Linked DNA regions of Homo sapiens: region 1 is linked to region 2. The links are contacts of gene promoters, found by promoter capture Hi-C in blood cells and fetal thymus (Javierre and others, 2016). All regions are on one chromosome and are shown on one strand. The core of a region is centred on a gene start or on the middle of the fragment in contact, and the rest is flanking DNA. Distances in the headings are between cores, read along the strand shown. Region 1 has its middle 43 kb from the start of LINC01792. Region 2 holds the start of AOX1 (aldehyde oxidase 1).

Evidence for each region. The method cuts DNA at HindIII sites, captures the fragments that hold promoters and counts their contacts. A CHiCAGO score of 5 or more calls a contact.
Region 1: a contact is called between a fragment that was not itself captured here and the fragment with the promoter of AOX1 in region 2, in 2 of 17 cell types (M2 macrophages and endothelial precursors). The highest score is 5.5, in M2 macrophages.

Annotation. Positions count from the first base shown.
Region 1 is chr2:200,688,564-200,695,149 of GRCh38, reverse strand. No RefSeq gene overlaps it. Among named protein-coding and RNA genes, the nearest start is that of LINC01792, 43 kb to the left of the region's middle. The HindIII fragment of the contact is 9,786 bases long and covers 444-6,586 here.
Region 2 is chr2:200,580,402-200,587,346 of GRCh38, reverse strand. It overlaps AOX1 (aldehyde oxidase 1), which reads right to left and starts at 1,333. Exons shown (of 35, transcript NM_001159.4): 1 at 1,194-1,333. The coding sequence starts at 1,238. It overlaps SGO2 (shugoshin 2), which reads right to left. Exons shown (of 9, transcript NM_152524.6): 9 at 3,251-3,898. The coding sequence ends at 3,883. The HindIII fragment of the contact is 4,080 bases long and covers 1-2,703 here.

The DNA.
Region 1 (6,586 bases), core at 4,087-6,586, 100 kb before region 2:
TGGCCCTCTCTCACCATTCCCATCCCTCAGGAGCAAGGGAGGGAGGAGGGAGAGGACAGGGAATGGAACCAGCACAGAATCAGATGGGAAGCTGTTCCCTGGGTGTAGAAAGAAGTCAAGCAGATCCTCTTGGCGACACAGGGGAGGCTAGTAGGAGACTGGGGAGAGGCAGACAGGACTGTGGAAAGTCTTCAAAGCAGGCCTCAGATTTGAGACAGAATTCTGGGGCCTGGGAGAGTTACTCTGAGTTTCTGAACCAATATTTCTAGAAGATGAATTTGACTGTGGTATGTAGTAGTTCCCAATTCCAGGCCTGCTGACTGGTCGCATCCATGACCTGGGGAGGTTTGTAAAAGTTCAGAGCTTGTCCTGGGCCATACTACAGGTGGTTCTAATCCAGTAAAATGGAGGGGAATCTCAGGCAAAAACATCTTGAAGAAGCTTCCTAAGCAATTCTGGGAAATTTGAGACCCTGCTATGAGTTAGGTTGCATGGGAGGTGTTGGAAGGAAGGTGACCGTATAGAGAATCTGTTGTAATAATTGCAGTGTAATTGAAGATGGTCTGGACTCAGGGAGTGCAAGTGCAGAGGACAAGGGACAGATGAGCCTGCAGACCGCTACATGAGCCCAGCATCAAGCCTTGGCTCTAGGGGAGAAAAAGCAAAAGGGTACCAATAGCATTAATATGGAAGTCAGGAGAGAGTTGTTTAGTGGAGTAAGGTGAGGGTTACGATGAACTCAGAACCAGGTATGTAAGGGAAGGGTCAGAAAAGAGAGCAGAAGTAGAAATGGATTCAGAAAACATATGGAGATGTCACCTGGAGTCTCAGGAATGGATGAGTCATTAGGTGAAGAAAGTGCATGCAGATAATTTAGCTACAAAGGAAACAGGGAGGATGAATGCAGAGAGCGAGTGGGAATGAAAGCAGCTGCATCTATGGGAAGGGCTGTCTCATAGATGAGGGACAGGTCTACCCAGGGTTAGCCCATATGTGGAAGTGGCAGGACAGCAGATCTCAGCTTAAAGTAAGAAATGGCTTCTAACAGATCTGCCGAGAACCTCCCAAGCCAGCTCTGACTGTCAGCTGGTACAGTTTACCAGTTCTATTGGGACTTCAGCATGATTAGTTGATGCGTTGCAGGGAGGTGAAGTAGGGAAAATAATAGCTGAAGAATGAGTAATGTTTAAATTAAGTACCATACTAGGTTTTTTTGTAATGTCATTTTTTATGCCTCTGAGAGATGAGGCCCCCATCCTGGAGTTTGTTCTTATTTACATTTCTATTGGTGTCAGAGGCATCAAATGTTGCTTCCAGGAGCCCATTCCCAGTATTGCCCTTTGGCCCTAGGTTGCTGGGCCCCCTGTCACCATGCCCATCTCCAAGGAGCAAGGAGACCCCAGGGTTAAGGGACATTCCACCAACAGCCTGTACCCCATCGCTGAGCCACAGGCTGTTGGCACTCATGGCCTCAGAATTTCCTTCCCAAAAGGCCCGAAATCTACTTCCACAGCCCACGTGGGCCTCTGCTGCAGTCTCTCCTCCCAGAGAGGACAGATACCCATCTAGAAGCTCACCCCTAGGCCTGAGCTGTGGCCAAGGGGCAGCTGTTTGGGGAATGGATGGAGCTTGGACAGGTGAGTTGGGTGTTCAATCTGTGATGCCAGCAATGTGGAACAGAACTGGGGTGGGAAGAGAAGAGAATGAGATGTCTTCTCCTTATATTCTTGCTTTGCGCTTGCAAATGCTGGGGGGAGGCCTGACCCTCCTGTAACTCCAGGCCGTGATATTTGATGTCCACTGGGTAAACAGTCTATACCAGTCTTTAAAGTCCCCCCTACCCTTTCAAATATAACTAGGAATCAAGCAAATTTGGATTCTAGAGGGAATTGTATTTCTGCTGTAATTACTGTACCATCCATAGGAATTTCTTTTTGTTTAAACTTTTTTTGCATATGATTATAAAATTAATGCATGTTCATGTAAAAACATCATGTAGAATTGCTGAAAAATCTACAGAAGGGAATAAAATTACTTCATATGAAGTAGAGATAACCACTATCAATGTTATGTGTATTTCCGTCCACTCTTTATAATTGCTCTGTATATATGAGATTATACTATGCTTATACATTTTTTCTATAAATCTGGTATCAGAGTGCTCAATTTTTAAATTTTTTCACTTCAAACCATTTTTATTTTCAAATTCTTTAAATATTGCACAAAAGAGATTTTCCAAGATAGTATAAATTCCAATCACATGGTTATGCCATGAAATACTTAAGCAATCCCCTATTGTTGGACATTTAGTTTATCTCTAATTTTTTTGTAATTATAAGTAACATTGTGACAAATATCTATGTATATAATAAATATTTGACTTACCTTCAATTACTCCCCTAGAGTAGATTCCTGGTGGTGAAATTGCTGGGTCAAAGAATGTATACACAGAAATTTTAAATTTCTTGGACATTTTCTAATTTCTACAGCTTTTGTGAGCCATCTCTTGCCAAAGTTGGCTCTAAGGACAATTCTGAACATCAGTTACCAGGAAAAACTGGCATTCAATAAGCAATTATTATGTGCAGTCACTGTACTTGGAACTTTCAGCACCTCATTTATGTCTATGATTTAGCCTTCCCAACAATTTCCTTGAAATATTATCCCAGTTATACCAAGGAGGAAATTAAACTGGAGCTGGAAAGTTACAGAGCTAGGATTCAAGCTAGGTTCCATCTTGCCAAGGCTGGTGTCACCATGCTGGTGCCATGTTTGAATAATTACTATATCTTGCAGGCCCTGTATGTGGGGTCCTTTTCTCCCAGATAGACTTGGGTTTGCAGCGATTGGGGGAAAACGGAAGGAAAGGAATAGAAGGACTGAGAGAAAGATAATTGTTCTTAGAACTCCAAAAGCCTCTTGCACCAACACCCCAAGCCCCAATAGTCAGGGGTTCATCGAAATAGATCAAAGGGCTGCGCAGAGGCCAGACAGTATGTGGTCAGCATGATATTTTGTGTTTTACAGACATGATATAATTTACACTTTATAGTCATAATCCCATTTTACAGATAGAGAAACAAAGGTTTAAAAAAGGTTTCCATGATAGTGGAATCAGAATTTGAGGCTATGCATTCTGATAATGGAGTTCATGGTCATAAAACAGGTAAAAGAGGGCAGAAAAAGAAAGACTTATACTTGCTTTGTTCTTAGGGCCTGCTTTTCTCTTGATCCAAGCAACATTTACCTTCCCCATTCATTTGGCAGCAAAATGAACTCTATAGAAGAAAACAAGAATGGAAAAATCAGAGAATCCTGGAGTTGTAAAATACCACTAGAGGTGATGATGATGATGATGATTATGGTGGTGGTGGTGGCAGCAGTGGTGGTGTGCTATGGTTCAGAGACTAGGGAGGAGCAGGGAGCAGGTTACCCCAGGGAGGACTGAAAACCCTGGTGCCCCTGGCGCCTCCTAAGTTAGAACGATATCCACTGAGTTGCCACCAAGTCACAGGGATTTGGCTCCACTGAAGAATTCTTCAGTGGAGAAGCTATGGCCCCTCCATTTATTTCAGTCTGGGAATCTAGCATTGGTCTTTTCTCCATGCTTATCTGACCCAGTGATCTAGCCAATAAAATAGATTCAAATAATCTTTAAAGCCACAGGGAAACTGGAAATGAAATACAATCATCCCTCAGTATCTGTGGGGGATTGGTTCCAGGACCACTCACAGATACCAAAATCTGCAGATGCTCAAGTGTCCTATATAAAATGGAATAGTATTTTCATGTAACCTACACACATCCTCCTGAATACTTTAAATAATCTCTAGATTCCTTTTACTACCTAATACAATGGAAATGTTATGTAAACAGTTGTTATACTGTATTATTTTACAGTTTTTTTTTTTGACAGAATCTTACTCTGTTGCCCAGGCTGGAGTGCAGTGGCATGATCACAGCCTACTGCAACCTCCGTCTCTCTGGCTGAAGCGATCCTCCCACCTCAGCCTCACAAGTAACTGGGACTACAGGTGCATGCCACCATGCCTGGCTATTTTTTTGTAGAGATGGGGTTTCACCATGTTGCCCAGGCTACTCTCAAACTCCTGAGCTCAAGTGAACCACTTGCCAAGACCTCCCAAAAAGCTAGAATTACAGGCGTGAGCCACTGCACCTGGCCTTGTATGGTTATTGTTATTTTTTTCTTACATATGTTTGATCTGTGGCTGGTTGAATCCAAGGATGTGGAACCCACAGATAAGAAGGGCTGACTGTATAGGTGATGATGGAAGGTACCAAATAATTTCAAATTATGAATGAATGAATTGAATTGAATTGAAAAATGATCAAATAAACAAATAGATCTCATTGTAATTTGTCTTACTTCTCCAGCTCAGGTAGTTAGTTGTCATAATATTTATAACTGCTATGCAGAATAATAATTATTTGACATCAATTATTCATGTCAATTTTGTTTACATGGCTCTCTAGTCTCTATTCTTTAACCTTTCTTTTAGACATACAGTCATGTGTTGCTTCAGGATAGGGATATGTTCAGAGAAATGTGTTAGGTGATTTTGTCATTGTGGGGTCATAGAATGTACTTATGCAAACTTCCATGGTAGAGCCTACTACACAGCGAGGCTGGATGGTACAGCCTATTGTTCCTAGGCTGCAAACCTGTACAGCATGGTAGTATCCTGAATACTGTAGGCAATTGTAATGTGATGGTAAGTATTTGTGTGTTTAAACATAGAAAAGGCACAGTAAAAATACAGTATTATAATCTTATGGGACCACCATCATATATGCTGCCTTTCATTGGCCAAAACGTCTTATGGAGCCCATAGTTGTATTATTTGCATGTCCCCTTTGTTATTCTCTTTCTCACTTTTCCACATTCTTTTAACAATATAGGAATCTAAACATCTCTGGGTATATAATCTCTGCAGTTTGTAATGTATCTTTTCAATAAAAAGTTTGTATTTTTAAAATTAATGATTCCATATAGTCTTTCTTAGCTACTTCCTATAGGGTTGTTTTTTTTTTCAGTTAAGTATAATAAAAAAAATTTGGTCTTTGTCCCCAGTTGGTTGTTGGCACAGAGCTTTCAAAACACTTGGAATTTTCTGAGTTATAGGGGTGTCTTTTGTTATTCATGACAAGCCTCTGGGTCACATCTGAGTTTATGCTAATGAGACATCTTAGGATAGGGCCCCTACGTGGATGGCCTCAGGATGACTCTGGTGAGCAGAGAGACCAAGTGATTGGAGGGTCTTCCACCCACCTGTCTCTGAGGGAACAGCGGGGATGGAGATAAAGCTCTATACAAACCCTTGAACAAGGAGATTTATGACCTTCTGGGTTGGTGAATGCATCCACATGACAGGAGGCTGGTGCACCTCAACTCCACCGAGACAGGAGCTCCTACACCCAGGACCCTTCTGGACCTTGCTTTATGTACCTTTCATAGTGCATTCTTCTGTGTCCTTGACAATATCTTTATAATAAACCAGTAAATGTTAAGTAAAGTGTTTACCTGAGTTCTGTGAGCCATTCTAGCAAATTACCAAACCCAAGGAGGAGTTCGTGGGAACCTCCAATTTATAGCTGGTAGGTTAGAAATATAGGAGGCCCAGACTTGCGATTGGCATGTGATGTAGGGGATCTTGTGAGACTGAGCCCTTAATTTGTGGGAGCTGCCACTAACTCCTGGTAGATAGGGTCAGAATTGGATTAAACTGTAGGATACCAGCTGGTGTCTGGAGATTGGAGAATTTGTTGGTGTGGAAAAAAACCACACACATCTGGTGTCAGAAGTGTTTGTGTGAGAGTGTGGAGAAATTATGTGTTTTTCAGAGCGTGGGATGTGGAGGAAGTGGGCAGAGGAAGGTCTGAATCTAATGCTCTATGATTGCTACACATTGCTGAATGGCTACTGATTCCACGCAGCATAAAAGATGAAAATGTTCCTTCTCTCTTCCCCATCTACCATGAGTACTAATCAAAGATGGAAGCACATTCCAAGAGGACATAGGGATTTATTTCACAAAAATGTTTAACTTTGGTGGTGACTCAACAAAAAGTGCTGCTGAAATGGCAGCATGAGAAATAGACTGTTTTCCTATCAACAAAACAAGATGTAAGGAAGATGGCCTAATTCGTTTTCACTTGAAATATGCTATTTTATAAACTTCAGTTTCAAAAAGCCATTGAGGTGCCACCTGTCTGTGTTTCTGAGAAAAATACCTAGTTACCATCACTGAGTTGGGTAAAATGTGAACCATTTTTCTCTAAGACACAATATTGTGCTTTCCTTGAAAACCAATCCTGCATAATGCACATGATGATTTGTGACTTAATCCAGAACTGTTGGCTCTGCAGCTATCAGTTGTTTCATACTCACAAGACTGAAACTTTTCCCACTATCCACAATGGGTCTCTGTCCAGTACAGCAGCATAAATTACCTGGGAAGAAGGAAATACACAATGTTTTGACCCAAAGACCCCTGACATCTCTGCCCTGACAGGTCTCCCTTGTTTATAGGTAGGTCTCGCATCACTCCTTCCCCCCAAATCATAT
Region 2 (6,945 bases), core at 84-2,583:
AGGGAAATCAGGTGCCACTGCTCTTGCTTGGTTGTTAGCTCTGTTTTTGTTGTTTTTAAGAAATAGGATCTCACTCTTTTGTCCAAGCTGGAGTGCAGTGGTGTGATCACAGCTCACTGTAACCTTGAACTCCTAGACTCAAGCAATCCTCCTTCACCCTCCCCAGTAGCTGGGCTGCAGGCACGCACCACCACACCGGTTTTTTTTTGTTGTTGTTGTTTTGTTTTGTTTGGTTTTTTTTTTGTAGAGACAAGGTTTCGCCATGTTGCCCAGGCTAAACTCGAACTCCTGGGCTCAAGCAATCCTCCTGCCTCGGTCTCCCAAAGTGCAGATTACAGGCGTGAGCCACAGCTCTCAAGGGAGCTCCTTAACCTTCCTGCCTCAGTTTCCTCCTTCAGAGTAATGTCAATGAAACTGGAACATTAAGAGTGAGCAGAGTTGATGCTCACATTAAGGGGGGTGTTTTAAAGGATGCCCAGGGGGCTTTGCTTCTCCCAAACATCGGACACTGCCTGGAACTGTCCCTCGGGTTGCGCAGAGCGAGCCCAGCTTCTGAGGCGACAGAGCCCGCACCCAGCAGTGGAACCCGTGAGGACCTTGGAGCCCCCAGAGCCTGACTTGGGTTCAGCTCTGCCAGGAACTAGCTGTGACTTTGGAAAGTAACGATTTCTTCATCTGAGAAACGATGGGGGTGGTTTGAATGTGTTCGTCTCTACGGTCTTGTCCCGAATCTAAGTTGCTCTCTGCGCTTCCAAACGCACCCCGCGAGCTGAGGCTCAGCCATTTCTGTAGGCTGCTCTCAGTGTACTGGGGACGTTCCCGTTATCGGCTGGGATTGAGGGAACGAAGATCTGGGAGTGCTGACCCCTGATGGGCAAGAATACTTTTTATCTTACTGTTTAGGGAGGGCGTGTGGTTGGAAATCAGCTTGTGAGCCTTGGAAGGAGAGGAAAGGGGAACATAAGGAAGGTGGGGGCCCAAAGATCCAGGACAGTCCCTGAAAACGCAGCCTTTAGCTGCCCCGGAGGCAGGGGTGGGAATGCGAAGGCAAAGCCGCTGTTACGGGAGAAAGCCAGTCCGTGCCTGAGTGCCTTAAACGGCGGGCACGAAAGGATGGGACGAACGGCAGGGGCTCCTCTCTGCCCCGGCCCTGGCCGCAGGTCTGGGGGCAGAGGAAGCCCGCGGGCGCTCACCTTGCGGCCGTTCACGTAGAAGAGCAGCTCGGACGCCCGGTCCATTGTGGTGTCCGCGCTGGTTCGAGGGCCCGGAGCGGGAGGCGGAGGTTCTGGGAAGTAGCGGGCACCTGGGACCCGGCGGCACCGACCCGCCGAGTGGGGCGGGGCTTGCTGGAGCCTAAAGTCCAACCCATCCACCCCGACGGAGAAAGCCTTGATTAAGATCCAACGTTCCTGAGCTCTTTGCCAGGAACTCTTCCCGGGACACCAGCACGTGTGTGGGCGTCACTGGCGCCCTCTATGTGGGCGGAAATCATCCGGCGAAGATGAAGACGACCCCTTCATCTCCTCGCCAGTGGCGCTTAGCGTCTGTGTCACACCCTCTTGCGTCTTAGCAAACATTGTAAGTCCTGGGACATTGCTTTTGATGGTCTTATGTTACTGCATATTTTAGGTGGTGTTCCAGCTGGATTTAAGTCTGGGAACATTAGTAACTCCCCTCCAACCAGGCCTGCTGTAGTCCTGGACTCTTAAGTGTAAACAATCATATTTATTCCAACTCTGCAAGAGCGGATCTTAGGGAAAACAAATAGGTTTACAACTTGATCTTTTAGAAATATAAGGTTGGTGCAAAAGTAATTGCGGTTTTTACCATCACTTCCAATGGCAACAACTGCAATTAATTTTGCACCAACCTAATAATTACTGGTTTTAAAATGAAGTGCTATCTTGATATAAACTTAAAAATTTTATCACTATTTACAGTTTATCCAGTAACTAACCACAAAGTTTATCTGGTAAATAAGAACAGAGATGTAAAACATCTTGGAAAACTTAAAAAAAAAAACTTGGAAAATACAGCAAAGCATAAAAATAAAGAACACCTGTAAGCCCACAACTTAGAACTTACCACCGTTCACTTTTTTAGTCTATCCTTACTTTTTGAAACATGTACTTTTAACACCTTTAAAAACTTAAGTGGGACAAACTAGTTATTTTCCAGGCTTTTTTCACTTGCCATACCTTAGAACATTTTCCCATGTTATTTCATTTATGTAAACACAAAAATTTTATTGTGAAATTTTCCAAACTTTGCACATAAAAGTGAAGAGTGCAATTGGCATCTACCTGCCCTTCACTGAGCTTTAACAATGGTCAACGTTTTGGCATACTCCATTTTTTGTAGTATTTAAAAGCCAATCCTGGACATATTTTAGCCCTAAATACTTCAAAAACACACATACACATCCTTTTAGTCAGCCGCAACACCATTTCACGTGTCTAAAAAATGTCTTTTACACTTGACTTCTTTGAATCAAACAAGAGCTGTGCAATGTATTTGCATGTGGTCTCATCAGTCTCTTTTGATCTAAAACAGACTTTTTAACACTATTAACACATTGAAAAAGAAACCAGGTCAGTTGTTCTATTGAAATGAACCATTTTTTGAATGTGGCTAATTGCTTCTCCCTGGTATTGTTTTTCTACTCTACTTATTTCCTATGCACTAAATATTAGATCTAAAGCTTTGATTAAATTCAGGTTCAATTTTTTGGGGGGGAGAGGGCAAGAACACTTCATAGGTGGTACCATATAATTAATATTGCAGCACAGCAGGAAGCATATGGTGTCTGGTTGTTTCATTCGTAATGATGCTAACATTGATCAGTGGGTTCAGAGGGCTATTCCTTTGTAATGAATTTCTCCATCAACATTTCACCTAATTGTTTTACATCCATTGTTGAGCATTGCCTGAGCGGTAGTTTTAATAGGGGTTTGCAATTTTTCTAATTCTAGCATTTCTTCTTCATTCATCAACTGGGATTCTTTGAATAAAACTATCCATCCTTCACTAGAGCTATTGACTAAACCCCTCCAGCACTCTGTACCCCCACTGCAGTCTCTCAAAGTGTGGTACTAGGACAATCCTCGGACGGACTCACCTGAAGCATCTGATTAAGATGCAGATTTCTGGGCCCACCGCGTTAGTGGTCAGATATTGTCTAAAAAAGTTTTCCATCTAGGTGGAATAGAGTTTGAGTAGTCATTTGAATTCAATAAACTGTGTATTGATCTCAGATATGAACAGGATTTATTACTACTTATTACTGGAAGAGTAAGTGATCTTTAAAACCAAATTATAAAAACCAAATTCAAAAGAGCCTGAAAGGTTAATCTCCTCCTCTAAGTCATCAGATTACATATAATAGAAATAATACAGAAGCTGACATTCAACATGTATTTCTGAAAACAGAAGAATGAAGGGAGAGAAAACGGGCCAGGGCAGGAGGTGGCTTTTAAACCCTTTTGGATGTCCACATATATTGAATGGGTTAAAAACAGACAGCAAAACAAGACAGCCTAGTATACAAGATAACCAATGCAAAGGTATTTATTAACACATTTTATTTGGTTAAAAGGTTATTGTTTGGTTAAAGGCTACTAGGTAAAAAGAAGCTTAAATAAACAGGAAGGTAAGTTATATGATGACCAAAATGACTCAAAAAGTTTAATGTTACAAAATAGCTATTTTATGCACATATACCTATTAATAAACATTAAGAATGGACAAATCAACACTCCATGAAAGGCCAAAGAAACAAAAAAAAAACCTTTTCATTAAGCATTTCATCTTCTTGATACTATATTTCTGTTTTGATTCCTTATGCTTTGAAAATTCAGAAAAACCAGAATCCATAAATTCACTTCATCTTCTCATCTTGCTGCAAAGTAGAAAAAAAGGAAGATTAATAACAACCCAAAATTAATGCTTTTGCTGTGAAGCATGGAGAAGAAAATTGTTTCATCATATCAGTAGAAAAGAAGTTTCCTTAAACCATAAGCTTTGTTAAATACTTGAAATACTCTAATTTTTCTTAAATCTTATAGTTCTCACTATCAGAGTACTTCAAATAATTCATTTCAAATATTTAAGAAAAATTAATCAACATAGATTTTATATATTACATGTTTATTACATAGTTCCTTTTTGTTAGAAATTTAGCATATGTTCAAGAACATGTGAAAATATACCATTTAAAAACAAAGTAAATGCTCATGTTCCTACACCCAGGTTAAGAAACAAAATATTACCACACCTCCAATATGCCCCTTTCTGATCACAACCCTCTCCTCCCCCAAAAAGGGACCACTATCCTGAATTCTATTATCACTCCTTTCTTTACAGTTTTGTTTTAAGCGTTTGTGTATTGCTCTCCCACAAAGTATATTGTTTGGTTTTATCTGTTTGATAGATATCTTTATATAAATGGAATCGTACTGTAGGTGTTTTTCTGTGACTTTTTCCACTCAACATCTTCATTCATTTTCAAGCCTCTCCTTTATTGAAACATTAAACATTTTATATTCTGTGTCTGATTGCTGTTTCTGCTGATACCTTGTTCCCCTGTGTATGTAATGTTTTTCTTTACTATGAGGTAGCCCTTCATTTTCCTTGGAACTTTGGCTGTGCAAAACATGTTGAGGTGTGAGATGGACAACTCCCTACAAAATATTTGCTTCTAATAGACAACAGAGCACTATAGTTCATGCACTAATTATACTAAATCCTCAGCTTAACTTTTTTTTTGCCTTCGAAATATTGTGAATTCCAGCTATAATCTGCAATAAAGGCTGTATTTTGGTTATGAATTCTAAGGAAAGATTTTTTTCCTCCTTAATTCAGCACCCAAGTTATTTCCTGGGGCTGAGCAAGCTAGTGGGGAGGTTATTTTTAGTTTGCTCTTTTACTGAGAAAGTAGATCAACTTTATGGAAGAAGATCTATTAGACTATTTATTTTGGATAAACCCTAGGATTTGTCTTCTGTCCCTAGCCCCATAGGGTTGTGAATGCAATGTTTAGGTTCACCTAGTTAGACAAATATCTTCAGGATAAGGTCAGTTCCCCTCTGAGTTCCTGCTATCATTTGATCTTTGATCTGAGCTTTTCTTACTTTCCTACTAAAAGAAATGTTGGTTGGCTAATAGTCATTAGTTAAGAAATGCATTCAAGGTATGTTTTTTAGTATTTTACCCAATAATTTTATTTTTTCAGTAAGAGGGTAGATTCCTGCACCTAATACATCATGTTTCAAGTTATGGAGTTTAGTTATATTTTACATGCATGTGTGTAAATGTGGTTTTTAGATGAAATACATAGACATGGTCCCAAATTTAAAAAGGTATACAAGATTAGGTGGAAAGGTCTCTTTCACTCCTTCGTACTCCTCTTCAGAGCCAGTGTGATACCACTGCCTTGGGTAATTAGATAGAGTTTAATTAATCCTTTCAAAAGAAGTACCTATTCTAAATAAAACACAGCAAAATGCTGTAAGGAAATAAGGTTCTATTTTAGTTTAAATGTACAGTGCATGCAGATGATTTGCTATACAGCTTAGTTGGTAAAATTTTTAAAAGCAAAAGCCACAACATTCAGTATAAATTCCGAGTGATGACCATCCAGTTGCCACTTTTTTTTCTTCCTTCTTTTTGGATTGGAAATGGTATACACTAGGTATATCACAGCTTCTAGTAGCTCCCATGAAAGTACATCCTAATTAAAGCTGCTTGCTATTATGGAATGATCATCATAGGTATTGAAGATAGGAGTGGTAGGAGTTATCAGGAAGGTCTCATAAATATGTTTTTAAAGTCTTTATATCTTAAAGACTTTAAGTCTTTAGTCCAGAGCACTGAACATGACAAATGAGGACATTTTTAATATAATAAAGGCCATAATCCAAAATGAATAAGTAATAATCATGATATTTACATAGCAAAAAGCAGAGCAACCACCCTTCTGAAGCAAAAACTACAGGAGATACATGGAAACACAGGACACAGTAGATTTTAATATACAACTCTTAGTATAACCTTAGTACAAAACAGATCACTTATTTACAAAAAATAAGAAACAGAAGATCTAAGCAACATAATAAATACAGTAAATCTCATGGATATATATCAAACTTTAGACCTTGATTATGGAGAATATACATCTAAGCAATCACAGCACAGTTATAAATGCTGATCCTATAGTAGGTCACAAAGAAAATACTGGCAATTTCCATAAAGCAGAAATATTACAATAAATAATTTCTGACCAAAATGCAATAAAACTAGATTTACAAATAAAAACAAAAAACCAGAAAGGTTCATCTACCTGGAATTTTTAAAACCTCCTAATAACTCCTAAAGAAAAGGAGAAACTTAAAAACGACATTGAAAACACTATGTATCAGAATCAAGATACATTGAAAGCACTGATCAGAGAAAAATTGATTGCAAAAGACACTTTAAAAAAAAATTTTTTTGTGTGTGTTCTATTTACTTATTTTTATTTTTAATTTTTTGAGTCAGGATCTTTCTCTGTGCAGTGGCACAATCATGGCTCACTGCAGCCTTGACCTACCAGGCCCAAACTATCCTCCCACCTCAGCCTCTCTAGTAGCAGCTGGGACTACAAGCACATGCCAATGTGCCTGGCTGATTTTTAAATTTTTTGTAGAGTGAGCGTCTCCCTGTGTTGCCCAGGCTGGTCTCCGACTCTTGGGCTCAAGTGATCCTCTCACCTCAGCCACCCAAAGTATTGGGATTACAGGTGTGAGCCACTGTGCCTGTCCATAAAACACTGTTATCTATATAAATGAAAGAATAAAAACAATAAATTTTAATGGGAAAACAACAATAATAAAGTAAATCAAAGAAAACACAAAGAAGGAAATAATAAATATGAAGCAGAAGTCAGTGAAGTAGAGAACAGAAAAATAG